Regions from separate parts of the Homo sapiens genome. Here all the other regions are linked to region 2. Evidence: promoter capture Hi-C in human tissues and cell types (Jung and others, 2019). All regions are on one chromosome and are shown on one strand. The core of a region is centred on a gene start or on the middle of the fragment in contact, and the rest is flanking DNA. Distances in the headings are between cores, read along the strand shown. Region 1 overlaps POT1 (protection of telomeres 1). Region 2 holds the start of TMEM229A (transmembrane protein 229A). Region 3 overlaps LINC03043 (long intergenic non-protein coding RNA 3043).

Region 1 (4,732 bases), core at 302-2,801, 820 kb after region 2:
AATATGGTACTACCGAAAAATAATAAACATCTTCCATCTTACAAGTTCTATGGAAAGAAAACTTCTGCATTTGTGCCTGTACCACCACAGTGTGAAACACTCCTTGAGTTCAAACGTAAGAGTTAACTAATTAGAGTTTTGAATTAAATGTTCTATAGTTAATCTCAGATGTTTTGCTAAACTTAGTCTACAAATGTCTTTAATTATAGACCACTGAGATTTTTCTTTTAATGGAGATTTCAAATGAGAGAGATGCAGAATGCTATTCAAAGATATTGACACCTACCTAAAAGAAGCTATATAACCTAAATCACATTTATATTTATGAAGAAAGATTTAGAAGCAAAAGGAGTTACAAACAAGGAAATTTAATTCATTTGTATAAATATAGCACTCCTGACTACTGGATGACTATAGGGATACCACTTTTTTTCCCCTACAAGTTCAGGATTGAATAACAGACATCTTACATAACAAAAAAACTATATAGGTTAAATATTCTTTATCTGAAATACTTGAAAACAGAAGTGTTTCAGATTTCAGATATTTACAGATTTTGGAATATCTGCATATATATAATGAGCTATCTTAGAGATGAGACCCAAGTCTAAAAACGAAATTCATTTATGTTTCACATATATGTTATACACATCACCTGAAAGTAATTTTCTATAATATTTTCAATAATTTTGTGCATGACACAAAATTTTTGTACACTGAATAATTGGAAAGCAAAGGGTTCACTCGCATACTGGCACTCAAAAAGATCTGCATTTAGGAGAATTCTGGACTTTTAGATTATGGAGGCTCAATCCTATAAAAGGAAACGTTTAAAAAAAAAAGATGAGTAGCAAATCAACTTTCCAATTCTGCTTATTGTAGCTTCTCTTAATTATATTTCCCCTCATTACTCTTTATTTCTGATGGAGGATATAAGCAAAGGAGGTAAGGAGAAAACCCACACTCCCAGGTGCTACTCCTTCATTCCCAAGGATCTTTTTTCCCAACCAATCAAGGGTTTTATAAGGAGCAGACAAAATACAAGCCTTTCCTTTGACCTCTTTCACTTACATCTATATCATAACCAGGGAGTAGTATAAAGAAAGTTAAAGAAGAAAAGAACAAAAAGAAAAAAGAAAAAAATAATTTTCCTCATAGTCTTCAAAGTGAGACATTGGAAAAAACATAAAATTTTCTAGTTTTATCTCATTCTTTTTGACTGGATTATTTTGTGATTCTTTTAAAATATGTGTGTGTATATGTATATATAAATATATTAGTATAGCACATGTATGTATGATCTACAAAAGATTTGAAAGAAGGCCTAAACACATGGAGAAAGATATTCACATACAAAAGGCTTTGATATTACAAAAATGATAATTTCCTCCAAATTAAACTTTAAATTTTATGCAATTCAATCAAAATTCCCAGAAGCTTTCATGGAATCTGAAAAGCTAATCCAAAAACTTATACGAAAGAGAACAGTCAAATCAATTTTAAAGAATATGAGAGGGGGGCTTTACCCTATCAAAAAATACATAAAGAAAAAGGATAATAAACATAGGTATACGTACAAACCTACATATGGAGACACAGAGAGGAGAGCAAAAAAAAAAAAAAAAAAAAAAAAACCAGAGCAGGCAGGAGCTCAAAGAAGGTTCGATGTGTAGAGTTTTATTTCCTAAAATTTAAAAGTGTCTGAAATAAATGTGGCAAAACATTTAAAAAATAAGGTGAACACACGGGTGTTTATTATACTATCTTGTCTACTACAGTATTTTTTAACATAACAAAATTTCGAGGCCAAGATATAAGTTATTCACATAAAGATAAGTTGTTATTATCAAAAATTCCTTATGGAGGCAGCATTGTATTTTTTCAAAAGCTTGACTAAAAATACTATGAAATGTGCCAGATGCTCTATTATAAAAAAACAAGTATTGGTTAATCTTGTCAGTATTAAGATTCCAAAAATACAAATGAAACATCAACCAAAAAATTATAAAAATACAGTTTAAAAAACAACTATAGAAGTCTATTTAAATACTAAAAAAAAACTAGAAACACTAAAAAAAAAAGCAAAGTAAATATGGCTAGTAAGAAATGACTATCCCTTTAGAAATAATCAAACGATTTGTCATAAACGGTCAAGAATTTCCCTTTAGGTTTATTATTTTTAATTCCCTGAATATGTCTCAAAATAGCCAACCAAATCACAGCTGTTGAACTATTGAAGGCCAAAACATAATTATGACCACGTATATTTTATAATTAACAATTGTGTCTGGATAAGAGTAGGGATTTAGAAAGTAAAGCTTTAGTTTCCAGACAAAAGATTTGAAATCTCAGTTTATGTGACTGGGTCTGTGTAAAATGTTTAAGGGAATGATATAACAAAAAGTGAGATTCAGAAAATAGTTAAGGGCAATTCGGGCTCTAAAATACATTGCTTGTAGATGTTGATTATATTATATTCTATAATTGCATTATACTGTCCTCTTTACTAAAATAAAAACACATTTTTTCCTGTTTCTATACAACAAAAGTCTTTCGTACTGGTTCCAGGTATTTTGACACAAAAACGTAATTTTAAACAGTTGTCTTGAAAGTACCAAGAAGAATTCATTTATATCAATGTCACGTGAGTGAAGAGTTCCTAAATTAAGAAGAAATGTTACAGAGGTTGTCAGAAAACAAATAAATGTGATGTCAATGTGTATTAAATAAAAATCTAAAGTTATATTACTTACACAGAGAAAAATCATTTTCATATTGCATTGCAGACAAATAATATAATGCTATTGATATCTTCACAGAAAACACAGTGCCATACATTTTCTTAATTATGTGTGCTCATATCACCCTCTAGTGGGCAAAATAAAGCAGAACATAAAAAAGGAGAAAAGAATCTGGAAAAAAAATCCACAGCATTCACTGATTCATTCATTCAGCAGCAGCTATTACTTACTTCATCCTCACTACAGGGAAAGCACTGCGATAGGTGCTGTTCAGGACTAAGACAAGAAAAGCAGGAAAAGCGGAAACAGAAAGACCTACATTGGAAGACCTGTTTGGAAGCAGTATAGGGAAAGAGAAGGGAATAAAATGGCGAAGGAAGGTATGCAGAGTGTGGAACTGAGGTGAATCTAAAATGTAAATTCATTTTATTTATGAAAGAACTCTATGAAAAAACCTCCAGAACTGAACTTATCATATATTTAATTTTGAAATAAACTAATCAATGTAGATAATATCTTTCAGGGAAATAATGTCAAAAATATATCTTCAACAGTCAGTGTTTTCTGATATGTCACAGATGTATGTGCATACATATATACACACAGAGGACAAAAAAGTACAGTCACTATCTTCCTGGACCCTGGATTTAATCTAATTTATTGATTTGAGTTGAGTAAACTTACTTGGTTTGTTGTTGTTTTGTTTTCTAATTACTATTTTTTCTGTAACCCAGAACAGTATTGATGGTGAACTTATTTGTGATACAATGTAGAATGGATATATTTGCTACTCCATGGCCACTGATTTATAAAGGGAAATTGGGCATTGAAATTCAGATCTTCACTCTTACTGTTTTCTTTTAATTTCCTATAAGTAGGCTAGAAGATATTTGTGATGGAGATCACTTCCATTTAATGCTTTAAAAGATTAGCTCTGCAAAGAGACATTGTGGATTCAAACACTGGCTTCATCCAGATAGGGACAGGAGGCAGGGAAATTCTACGCAGAAGAGGGCAGGTCCCCAGCAAGGACCCTGCTCTCAAGCTGAAAAGCCTGATACCACGGCCCAAAGTGAGAACTTACATCCCTGTTTTCCTGCTCAAATGTTGCCTTTTCTAAAACCATCCATGGCCCACCCCACCTGACATCCTGTGCCCATAAAAACCCCAGGCTCAGCCGGCAGAGGGAAGAGAGGCAGCTGGCCATCAGACACTATGGCTGGATGTCAGAGAGAAGCAGCTTGACTTCAGAGGGACAGCTTGATGGTGTAACCTGGGAGAAGAATCTGGCCAGAGAGGGCCAGACTTCAAGGTAAGACTACCTTCCTGCTCCATCCTCTTTTCACTTCCCCTTCCCACTGAGCCACTTTCATCAGTAATGAAATCCCCTGAATTTACCATCTTCATTTTATTCTTGAGACCTCATTCCTCCTGGATGCTACACAAGAGCTCGGGTGCCACAAGTGTGGTGTGAGTCAGTCACAGCTACCCTGCACTAAGCTGTTAACACTTAAGCTGTCCATGGATGACAGAGCTAAAACAGTACTGTAACACTTCCTCTGGGGCTTCAGGGGTCACCAGCACCCTCTCAGATGCTGCTGTGGGGCCAGTACAGAGTTTGCTTCTGCCCGTGCCCAAAAGCCTTTGCCCTGGCTCCTGCACCTGCTCACCTGCATGCTCCCACTCCTGTGGTCTGAGTGAGTGGAGCTCTCCCCTGCCAGCACTGAAGCGGCTGCCTAGTTCCAGCACCTGTGCACTCCAGTTCCTGCCCGTGAAGGGGTCAGGGAAATACCCTGCTTCAATCCAACTAGCTGTGGAATCTTGAACCACTGATTTAACCTGAGTGCCTCATTTCACATTTGTAGAACGAGATGACTACCATCACCTGTCTTATAGGAGAGTACCAAATGCATATAAAGTGCCTAGCAAAAGTTACTCTTATTATTTACTGCATTATTATTTATCATACCATTCTTTACTACAAAAAGTAC
Region 2 (4,674 bases), core at 1,879-4,378:
GCATGCTTTCCTACTTCCTTGATGGATTTCTGACCCTAAGAATGCTGTTAGGCAAGTAAGAAGGGCTGGAGAGCAGCATGTGAAGGGCACAGTGCAAATGTGTACATTTAGCAAGTATTTCAGAAATCTCGGATTTGGTGAAGTATTTGCTGGAGTGTGTGGTGTGATGTCACACTTAACTCAGATACATGTGTCACATTTGAATTACAAATATTCTGTCCAGCATCTCCCTAACTTGAGTGACTATGCTTATACTTTTTTCTACACAGGGTTTTCATAAATCTTTGATCCTTGACCAAGTGTCATAGAGAACTTTTCTTAAGTGAAACTCTCTGCAAACAGTTAGCTTATATTTAAGTTTCTATTCAGCTTTGAGTATAGTATTTTGGCTAAAATAATGTTTTGCATGGTCCATTTCACAGGTGAGGTTGATTATATAGCATTCATTACTCTTAATTTAGCTTACAACCTCAGATAGTGGTTTAAAATATATAACACTCATAACTATGTCTAAGTTAATCAAATTTAAATTATTTTCTACTCCTGTAGCAAACATTTTTTGAAAACAGAAAAAAGTCCCTTTTTACAGCATAGGCTCGCTGATAATTTGAATAGAAAACCACTCATTTCTATACATGAAATTTTCCTGATTGTCTTTGTAATAAAAACTGAGAGGATATTCGTCATCCCTGGCTGAGCTGCACTGAATTCTACTCTTTTATACATGTAATAAAACAGCAAACAACATCAAAATACATTATTAATTAGGCATGAATTTCTTAAAATGGTTTACATCATCTCATTTAACTTCAGAGCTTGCAGACATTAACAGTAAGTCACCACAAAGCTACCATTGATTTATAATGCACATTACCACATCAAGCCTGGCCCAAGGACTCTGGGCCCAGAAGGAAAAACAGCCATGGCAGAAATATAATGAAAACATATCTGTATTCACAGAAAACAATTAGGCTTAATGTAATTAGAGTGAACATTCAGGTTCATTTTATTCAAAGGTAATGTTTCTGCCCTTGAAGTTCCATGTAGAAAAGGGTCCTTGGAGTTAGAACACTGTGGAAGGTGATATAATTTCACTTGGCCCTCGGCTATGTAAGGTAAACATTTTACATTATTGCACAGTAACAAAAATTTACAGCCATAGATAACACAGGATCTGATCAACGTTAACACACCTGCTGTTTAAGGCTTACCCACATTGGAAAGCAATCATTTCCAGGATGGAGATCAAATATCTTAACACAGTGTCACCTGTGTGAGTTGCTAGAAAAGACCTCTCATTTAAAAATCTGTTCATAGAACGTGCTTTCACATTTTTCAGCCTCTTTTCACTTGTGTGCTAGACGGAGGCACTTTAAGAGCTATTAACTGTAGTCTCAAGAGTACAAGACATTGAGTTTCTTCAGTCATTGGTAAATATGGCAAGGAATTAAAATGAAATTAGATTAAAAAGAAAGTAAAACAAATCACTGAATCAGAAAATTTAGCCAAATCTTGTAAAAATCACTGGTCTCTGATTTAAAGATCCCCCCCCGCCAAAAAAAAAAAAATTAGTAGCTGTCACTCATCTGTTGCCAGATGGGTAAACACTACTACATCATTCTGATGTTAAGGTATAACGGTTTTGCTGTTTGGGCGTGTAAACGTTTGGGCTTGTAAATGTTTTAAAACATTGGCAAATAAAGTACTTTGAATTATGTTTCGAGTAGTGTTTCAAAGTATATTATACACGGGTTTCAAATAGAAAAACTAAAAGGTGGAATAAAACAATTTGGAAGAGTTTAGTAAAGCGTATAAAAATTAAAGGACTAAAAAACCCACTTCATTTTAAATGTGTAAAAATAAATCGCATCCATTCGTGGGAATCCAGTGACTTTTTCCTTTTCTTTCTTTCTTTTTTGGTTTTAGTTAGCTGGTACGTACTGCACCCTCCACAACACGTTGGAAATTAGGTCCTGGTACACACTAAGGAATATCCAGCCAGGTAAATACATCAGGGTGATGAGGCCCATAAAATTGAGCGGGTAGTGAGAATAGTCCCAGGAACAAGCCCCGCACGTGCGGAGTCCCAGACCCCAGGACAGCTCCCACACGTAGATGAAGATCACGTAGATGGGCACCCGCTTCCAAGTGCCCCAACCGCGGCTGTAGTGGAGGTGGAAGTAGAGCTTTTCCACCACGAAACTGCAGCTGCCGTACATAAAGAAGGACCAGAGCGACGTGTGGCCGCTGGTTGTCCCGTCCCCCTGCCCCAGTACGTTGAAGAAGAAGGTGAAGAAGATCTCATCCAGAAAGCCGTGCATTCCGAAGAAAAGAAAGCGGGGTAGGTCGGGCAGCCCCTGGCTGGGGGCTCCCCCGGCGCCCCTGGGGCCACGGGGTCGTCGCCGCCGGGCTCCGGCCGCAGTAGGGACCCGGGCGCCGGGAGGGACGGGGAGCGCGCCCCTCCGCTGCTGCTGCTGCTGCTGCTGCTGCTGTTGCTGCTGCCGCCGCCTCTGTCGCCCGTACCGCAAGCGCAGGAAGCGCTTCAGGAACACTTGGCAGTGGTAGAGCGCCAGCACGTACTGCAGCGCCAGGTCCAGCGCCCCTGGCGCCACCGCGACCCCCGCCCCGCCGCCCAGGCTGAGTAGTAGCGCCTGGCCCGCTAGGGTCTGCAGCCCCACGTGGGCCGAGGGGTAGAGGAGGAAATTGAAGACGAAGGCGTTGGGACAGCGCCGCTGCTGCAGGTACACCTTCTCCAGGGCGAAATGGGTGAGCGAGTGCAGCAGGCAGCGGTAGGGCGAGGAGAAGCCTAGCATCCGCAGGTCCGGGCTGCGGGCGAAGCGCCGGGCCGAGGACACCAGCACGTCCAGGGTGATCCCGTGCATCCCGTAGAAGTAGAGGCGCATCCAGGCGGGCAGCGTGGCGCTCTCAGCCGGCGCTTCAGCAGTGGACAGCGGCTCCGGGCAGCCGGCTGCCGCCTCGCTTCCTGGCCCGCCAGGGGCCCCCGGACGCCGCGCCGCGCCGCCCCTCCGTGCGGGGCCCTCGCTGTCCACGTCGCTCCCCGCCATGGGCTCGGAGGCTGTCCGAACGCCCGAGGCTGCACCGCCGCCGCTGCCGGGTGCGCGGAGCTGCAGGGCCGAGCGGCCGAGCCCCGCGCCGCCTCCTGGCCGCTGCCGGCCCCCGGGGGGCGCGCAGGGAGCTCCGTCCCGGCCGCGGTCCCGCGGCAGCGGGGGCTGATGCACTCAGGGGACTCGCGGGCCGCCCGGCTAGCGGAATCCCCCCGCCGTGGCCCCGCTGCGCCCTCCCTTCCAGTCCCGGGCGAGGTGCCGCCCGCCCGCGCCCGCTCTAGCTCTCACCCTGCGCGGCCTAACGGGCACCGCGGCCCAGCCAGGGGAGGCGGCGCCGGGGCTGTGAGGGGAAATGCAGAAGCTTGTGGAAGCCCCATCCCCTCCGCTGCTTAGCCCCGCGCCTCCGCTGCAGGCTCTGGGAACGTAACGCGAGCAGCGGCGGCCCTGCCCCCGCCCTGCCAATGCCCCTCTCCGCCTGCCTCGACCTCTCCCGCCTTCTCAGGCCGCCCCCACGCGCCCGCCCGCCGCACCGAGTCCCACAGGGTCTGCTCGGGAAGGCCCGGCCCTGCTTCTTCCTCCCGGTGCGCCCACTCAACACAGGGGCTCCGGTCGTGCGGGGGGCGCTTGCTGGGCGGAGGCACTGAGTGGAGAAACACCTAACAGGTGTGACTGCAAGTTGATGGGCATTCCCTGCATCGCGGCAATCAGGGCCAGGGCCTGGCTGGCGGAGACGAATGGCTGAGTGCCACGGGCTGGAGGCTGGGCTCAAGACCAAAATATGGTGCTGTATACTTAATGTTCTTATTCAAAGCCAGCTGTGTCCCAGTCATAGAGAATAAACTCGAGACTCCACGCCTGCCCGCCCCTGCGTTACCCTCCATCTAAATTGCTGCCGCGGGGCCTGATCCACTTTTCCAATCTATTTCTTGGCCCATCTACTTTTCTGGGTTTACTCAAGGCCAAGGACAGAGATTCGATGTCCCCCAGAATTTGTGAAATGATTTCAGGCCAGTTGGGTTGGGTTGGGGTGTGGAGAAGAGGAAATGCTTTGTTCTAGCTACTGTGGGGTCTCAGGTGGAGAATAGTACCTCGTCCTGGCACACCCCGCTGCTGGGTTCTTCTTTTGGCAGAACTAGGTCATCCCAGAAATGGAGAGTGACATAAAGGGCCAGGGTTTATCTTTTTCTATCTTTTCCCTCCCTCCCTTCACCTCTCCCCTCTTCTCCCTTCCCTCATTCCCTACTTCCTCCCCTCCCCTCCCCTCCCCTCCAATCCCTCCCTCCCTCTCTCTCTCCCTTCCTCCCTCTTTATCTCCTTCCTTCCTTCCTTCCTTCCTTCCTTCCTTCCTTCCTTCCTTCCTTGGTTGAGAGAGTGGAAGGGGTTCAGAATGTTGGTGTGTTGGTTCCACCATTCTCTCCAATTTTGAATCAGTCTTGGAACTGGAAAGAGCCTCGGGGGTGAATTATACCGATTACCTCCCTCTTTCTCCTCCTTCCCCCGAAATTCATGTGCGGATAGATAACAGTTCTGTGTTAGAGTTTAGATCCTCCCTTGATGAAAGGCTTTCTGGGGAATTTTTTTTTTTCCTTCTGGCGAATAGACATAATGA
Region 3 (4,434 bases), core at 907-3,406, 750 kb after region 2:
AGTATAATTTGCTATTCTTAACATGAAGAGAATCAAGGAAAACCGCCTTCCTATTAAAACCAATTAAATATTTGAATCACCTTTAAGCATGTACATTACACTCTTGCTCCTGATCAATATAATGAGTAAAATATTCTGTACCCGCCAGTATTAGTTACATGCAAAGAAGAATAGTGTCCCCCTTTTTTCCCGGGAACTTAGGAATAGTAAATGCACAAGAGGTTAGAAATATAAGAATTCTGAATATATTCTGGGTATAGCAGGCTGAATAATGCACTGAGTAATAACATATAGAATGACAATAACAATAACTTGCTGTTATGAGTGACTTTAGCAATAAAAAGAAATCAACTCATAGAATATTATCATTTCAAGTCAATCTAGTAATATAGTAATATACCTATAGAATTAGGGACAAAATTATACATGTCATAACATTCCAGTTTTTAACTGATTGAGTGCATGTTATGTGCTAGGTGTTTCCAACATTTCATATTATCTTTGTGAGCTAGTTGTTTGCAGGAGGGGAACTCACAGAGCTTGAAGCCCAGACCTGCTGAAGCCTGAGTGTGAGTAATAGAACCTCACTTCATCCCACCTCTATGTAAACACTCGAGAAGGTGCTAATTTTGTTTTGCAGTAGTTATTTGCACCTAGTGAGGAAGCAGGCATGTAGCCAGAATTTCCAGAACAGCCTAGCTGATGCCATGAGGAAAAAAAAAAAAAAAAAAAAAAAACTAGAGAAAGGCAAAGGAAGCTTCTCCTACCTGATGGTGTTCTTGCTCAATTTAGGCAGTATCATCTGAAGCTACGTAATTTCACAGCAATGCTAAGGTCATATGAGAAGTCACAACTGCCTCTGAAACCTCACTGTGCTAACTCCTGTTTTACGTGTCTGTTCTCTGTTTTTTCTGCCTCTCTAAGTTTCCTAACCATTTGCCATTAAAATCTTATATCTTTCTGTTGACTGCATTCCCATCCCATTGTGACAATATAGAAAGTATTACACTCATTTTATAAAGACACTGAAGCCCTAAGCATAACAGTCACTCCTCCAAATTAACCAGCAATAATAATGAGGTTATAATAAACACAACTATGCCCTTTGCATATGAAACTGTTAGGAAAGGGCAAAACACTGAAGACACACTTACAGGGTGAAGAGAAACAAAAACCAATTCTATAAATGTGTAATCTTGACACTGTGTGGAGAAAATTTAGGTTGTTTCTTTTGATGTTACACAAGAAAATCATATGAGATAATATGAACATGTTTATTTTACCATCAAATAAGCTCTATGAATACAGGAAATGTGTCTATTTCATTCACCTATTTAAAGCCAGCGTCCAGCAGACCCTGTGTGTCATAGCCACTTAATCAATACTTAAATTTTTAAATTTTCAAATGCCTATTGATTTAAATTATTTCATTACTTCATTAAGGTGAAAAAAATGTAGTTTGGTTATTTGAGGAACATAAGTGATGTTTCTGTGAGGGTGTTTTGGATGAGACTGAAATTTAAATTGATGGACTTTGATCAAAGCAGATTGCTGTCTGTGGGTGGGCCCCATCCAATCAGTTGAAGGTCTAAATAGAACAAAAGACTGCCCTTCCCAAGCAAGAGAGGATTCTGCCAGCAGACTGCCTTTAGATTTCAACTACAATACCAGCTCTTCTCTAGACCTCCTTCCTGTTGGCCACCTGCTGCAGGTTTTGAACTTGCCAGCCTCTATAATTTATTGAGCCAATTTTTCAAAGTAAATTTCTCTCTCTTTCTACACACACATGCACACACACACACATACACAGCCTATTGGTTCTGTTTCTCTGGAGAACCCTGACATAATACAATTAGTATTAGCATAACTTTTTAAGGATATGGGTATTTCAGTGTAAACAATCTTAAATGATATACAGACTATTAAGATGAGGTGGAAAGAACATGAAGTAGAAAAGTCACAGGGCCAGGTCCAAGATTTCTCTATTTATTTATTCATTCACTTCTTTATTCATTATATACTTTCTGAGCATCTATGATAACCCCAGACACTGTTCCAGGAGCTGAGGGTACAGTGGAGAAGGACATTGACCAGCTCTTTCCTCTTATGCTTATTTAAAACTAGTGGAATAGATGAGCAATATATAAGTCAACAATTGTATTAGTCAGAGTTCTCTAGAGAGACAGAACTAATAGGATATATTTATATATGAAGAGGAGTTTATTAAGGAATATTTACTCACACAATCACAAGGTAAAGTCCCACAATAGGCCCTCTGCAAGCTGAGGAGCAAGGAAGCCAGTCCGAGTCCCAAAACCTCAAAAATAGGGAAGCTAACAGTGGAGCCTTCAGTCTGAGGCCAAAGGCCCAAGAGCCCCTGGCAAACCACTGGTGTAAGTCCAAGAGTCCAAAAGCTAAAGAACTTGAAGTCTGATGTTCAAGGGCAGGAAGCATCCAGCACAGGAGAAAGATGAAAGCTGGAAGACTCAGCAAGTCAAGTCCTTTCAACTTCTGCCTGCTTTATTCTAGCCATGCTGGCAGCTGATTAGCTGGTGCCCTTCCAGTTTGAGGGTGGGTCGGCCTCTCCCAGTCCACGAACTCAAATGTTAATCTCCTTTGGCAACACCCTTACAGACACACCCAGGATCAATACTTTTCATCCTTCAATCCAATCAAGTTGATACTCAATATTAACCATCACAAGTAAACAGACAAGTTACTTTCAGAAAGTAAAGAAAAAATAAAACAGGCAGATACGATACAGAATTATTTAGATTGGGTAATCACGGAAGGCTTCTCCAAAGAGGTGACTTTTGAGTAGAAAGATGACTAGAAATAAGAAGCCAACCATGCCAAGATCTGGAGTCAGAGCATTTCAGGCAGAGGAAACAGCAAGTACTAAGGCCTAGAGGCAGGAGAGTATTTGCCCAGAGTACTTGAGACAAATTCCTTGGCCTCTCTGAGCCATGGTTCCTCATCTGTAAATTAATGGTGATGAGACATACTTTAAGAGTTGTTGTCAGAATGAGATAATGTTTATAAGGTCTGAAGCACAACTATGGCCTATAACAGAAACTTGAGAAATGGTCATTATTAAGGGAGTGTAGCAGAAAGGTATAATTTAAATTGGGAATAGGGGAGCATACAGAAATGACTTTGAAGGAAATTTGAACTAAACTCTGAAGGATGAACCAGAGGAACCAGAGACTGTCAGATGGTGAAGGAGGAGAATATTCTAAGCAACATTAACAACACACATGTACACCGTGCACGCACACACATGCGTGGTCATACACACACACACATCACACATATCCTTACTTCACTGTGGTTTTGTTGCTGGTGAGCAGGTACGGATTCTTGACTTCACCGCACAAAAGAACTTGAGAGCGAGCCTAAAGTAAGAGTAAGCAAAGTTTATTTATTGCAAAGCAAAAGTACACTCTGAGAGGCAGAGCAAGCTACTCAGAGGCAGACAGCAGCTAGTGCCTCAAAGGAATTCCTTTTATGGGAGCTGTACATACATTTTCATAAAATACGACCTGGGAAGGTCAAATATGCAAAGGCAGACCTGCAGCTGGAGCATGCGCTTAGCAGTAACACACACCGCATGTATCATGCCCTAATACAAATCATGTGTATCATTAGCATATAAAATCTCCACCTAGGGGTGCTTTTTTTTATTATTAAAATGAGGAAAAGTTTACTAAAAGCTAAACCTTGATTCTAGCTGCATATGCAGGACACCAGAGAAGCCCCCGGCCACCCACTTTCCTTTCTCCTCCCCCTTCCCTTCCCCCAAGGCAGGAATTTGTACCTAATAGCTTCTTGGGCTTTTGGTGCCGATTGGTTGGAGAATGGGGAAATTCCATCAGGAATAAGAAACTTTTGTTCTCTTTCCCAGGCCACACTGGATGTCAGGAACTTGTAACCATCTGGTTGGTGGTCTGCTGGTATCCTGTAGGACTGCTTACCTTGCCAAAGAAGTGCTGATGCACACAAGGATGCAAGGGATGTAGGGCTGTCTGTGGAGGGGCCCGTGGGGCTTCACACAAGGGGACAAGTCAGTATAACCCCGATATGATTTGGCTGTGTGGCCCCAACCAAATCTCATCTCGAATTATAATCCCCACGTATCAGAGGAGGGGCCTGGTGGGAGGTGATTGAATCATGGGGGCCAATTTCCCCCTTGCTGTTCCCATGATAGTGAGTGAGTTCTCATGAGATCCTTTTGTTTAAAAGTGTGTGGCACTTCCCCCTTCTCTCTCTCCTGCTCCTCCATAAGACCTACTTGCTTCCCCTTCGCCTTCCACCATGATTGTAAGTTTCCTGAGGCCTCCCAGCCAGGCTTCCTGGACAGCCTGCAAAACTATGAGTCAATAAACCTCTTTTCTTCATCAATTACCCAGTCTCAGGTAGTTCTTTATAGCTGTG

The links. The method cuts DNA at HindIII sites, captures the fragments that hold promoters and counts their contacts. A contact is called where the count stands out against the background at its distance.
Region 1: a contact is called between a fragment that was not itself captured here and the fragment with the promoter of TMEM229A in region 2, in 2 of the 25 tissues and cell types used here (dorsolateral prefrontal cortex and hippocampus).
Region 3: a contact is called between a fragment that was not itself captured here and the fragment with the promoter of TMEM229A in region 2, in 2 of the 25 tissues and cell types used here (adrenal gland and dorsolateral prefrontal cortex).

Annotation. Positions count from the first base shown.
Region 1 is chr7:124,853,610-124,858,341 of GRCh38, forward strand. The region is part of intron 9 of POT1 (protection of telomeres 1); the gene reads right to left. Among named protein-coding and RNA genes, the nearest start is that of LINC03043, 65 kb to the left of the region's middle. The HindIII fragment of the contact is 4,225 bases long and covers 1-3,664 here.
Region 2 is chr7:124,029,939-124,034,612 of GRCh38, forward strand. It overlaps TMEM229A (transmembrane protein 229A), which reads right to left and starts at 3,129. Exons shown (of 1, transcript NM_001136002.2): 1 at 983-3,129. The coding sequence starts at 3,065. The coding sequence ends at 1,923. The HindIII fragment of the contact is 14,772 bases long and covers 1-4,674 here.
Region 3 is chr7:124,778,682-124,783,115 of GRCh38, forward strand. LINC03043 (long intergenic non-protein coding RNA 3043) reads right to left here. Exons shown (of 4, transcript NR_167671.1): 3 at 3,322-3,395. Among named protein-coding and RNA genes, the nearest start is that of LINC03043, 9.9 kb to the right of the region's middle. The HindIII fragment of the contact is 8,850 bases long and covers 1-4,434 here.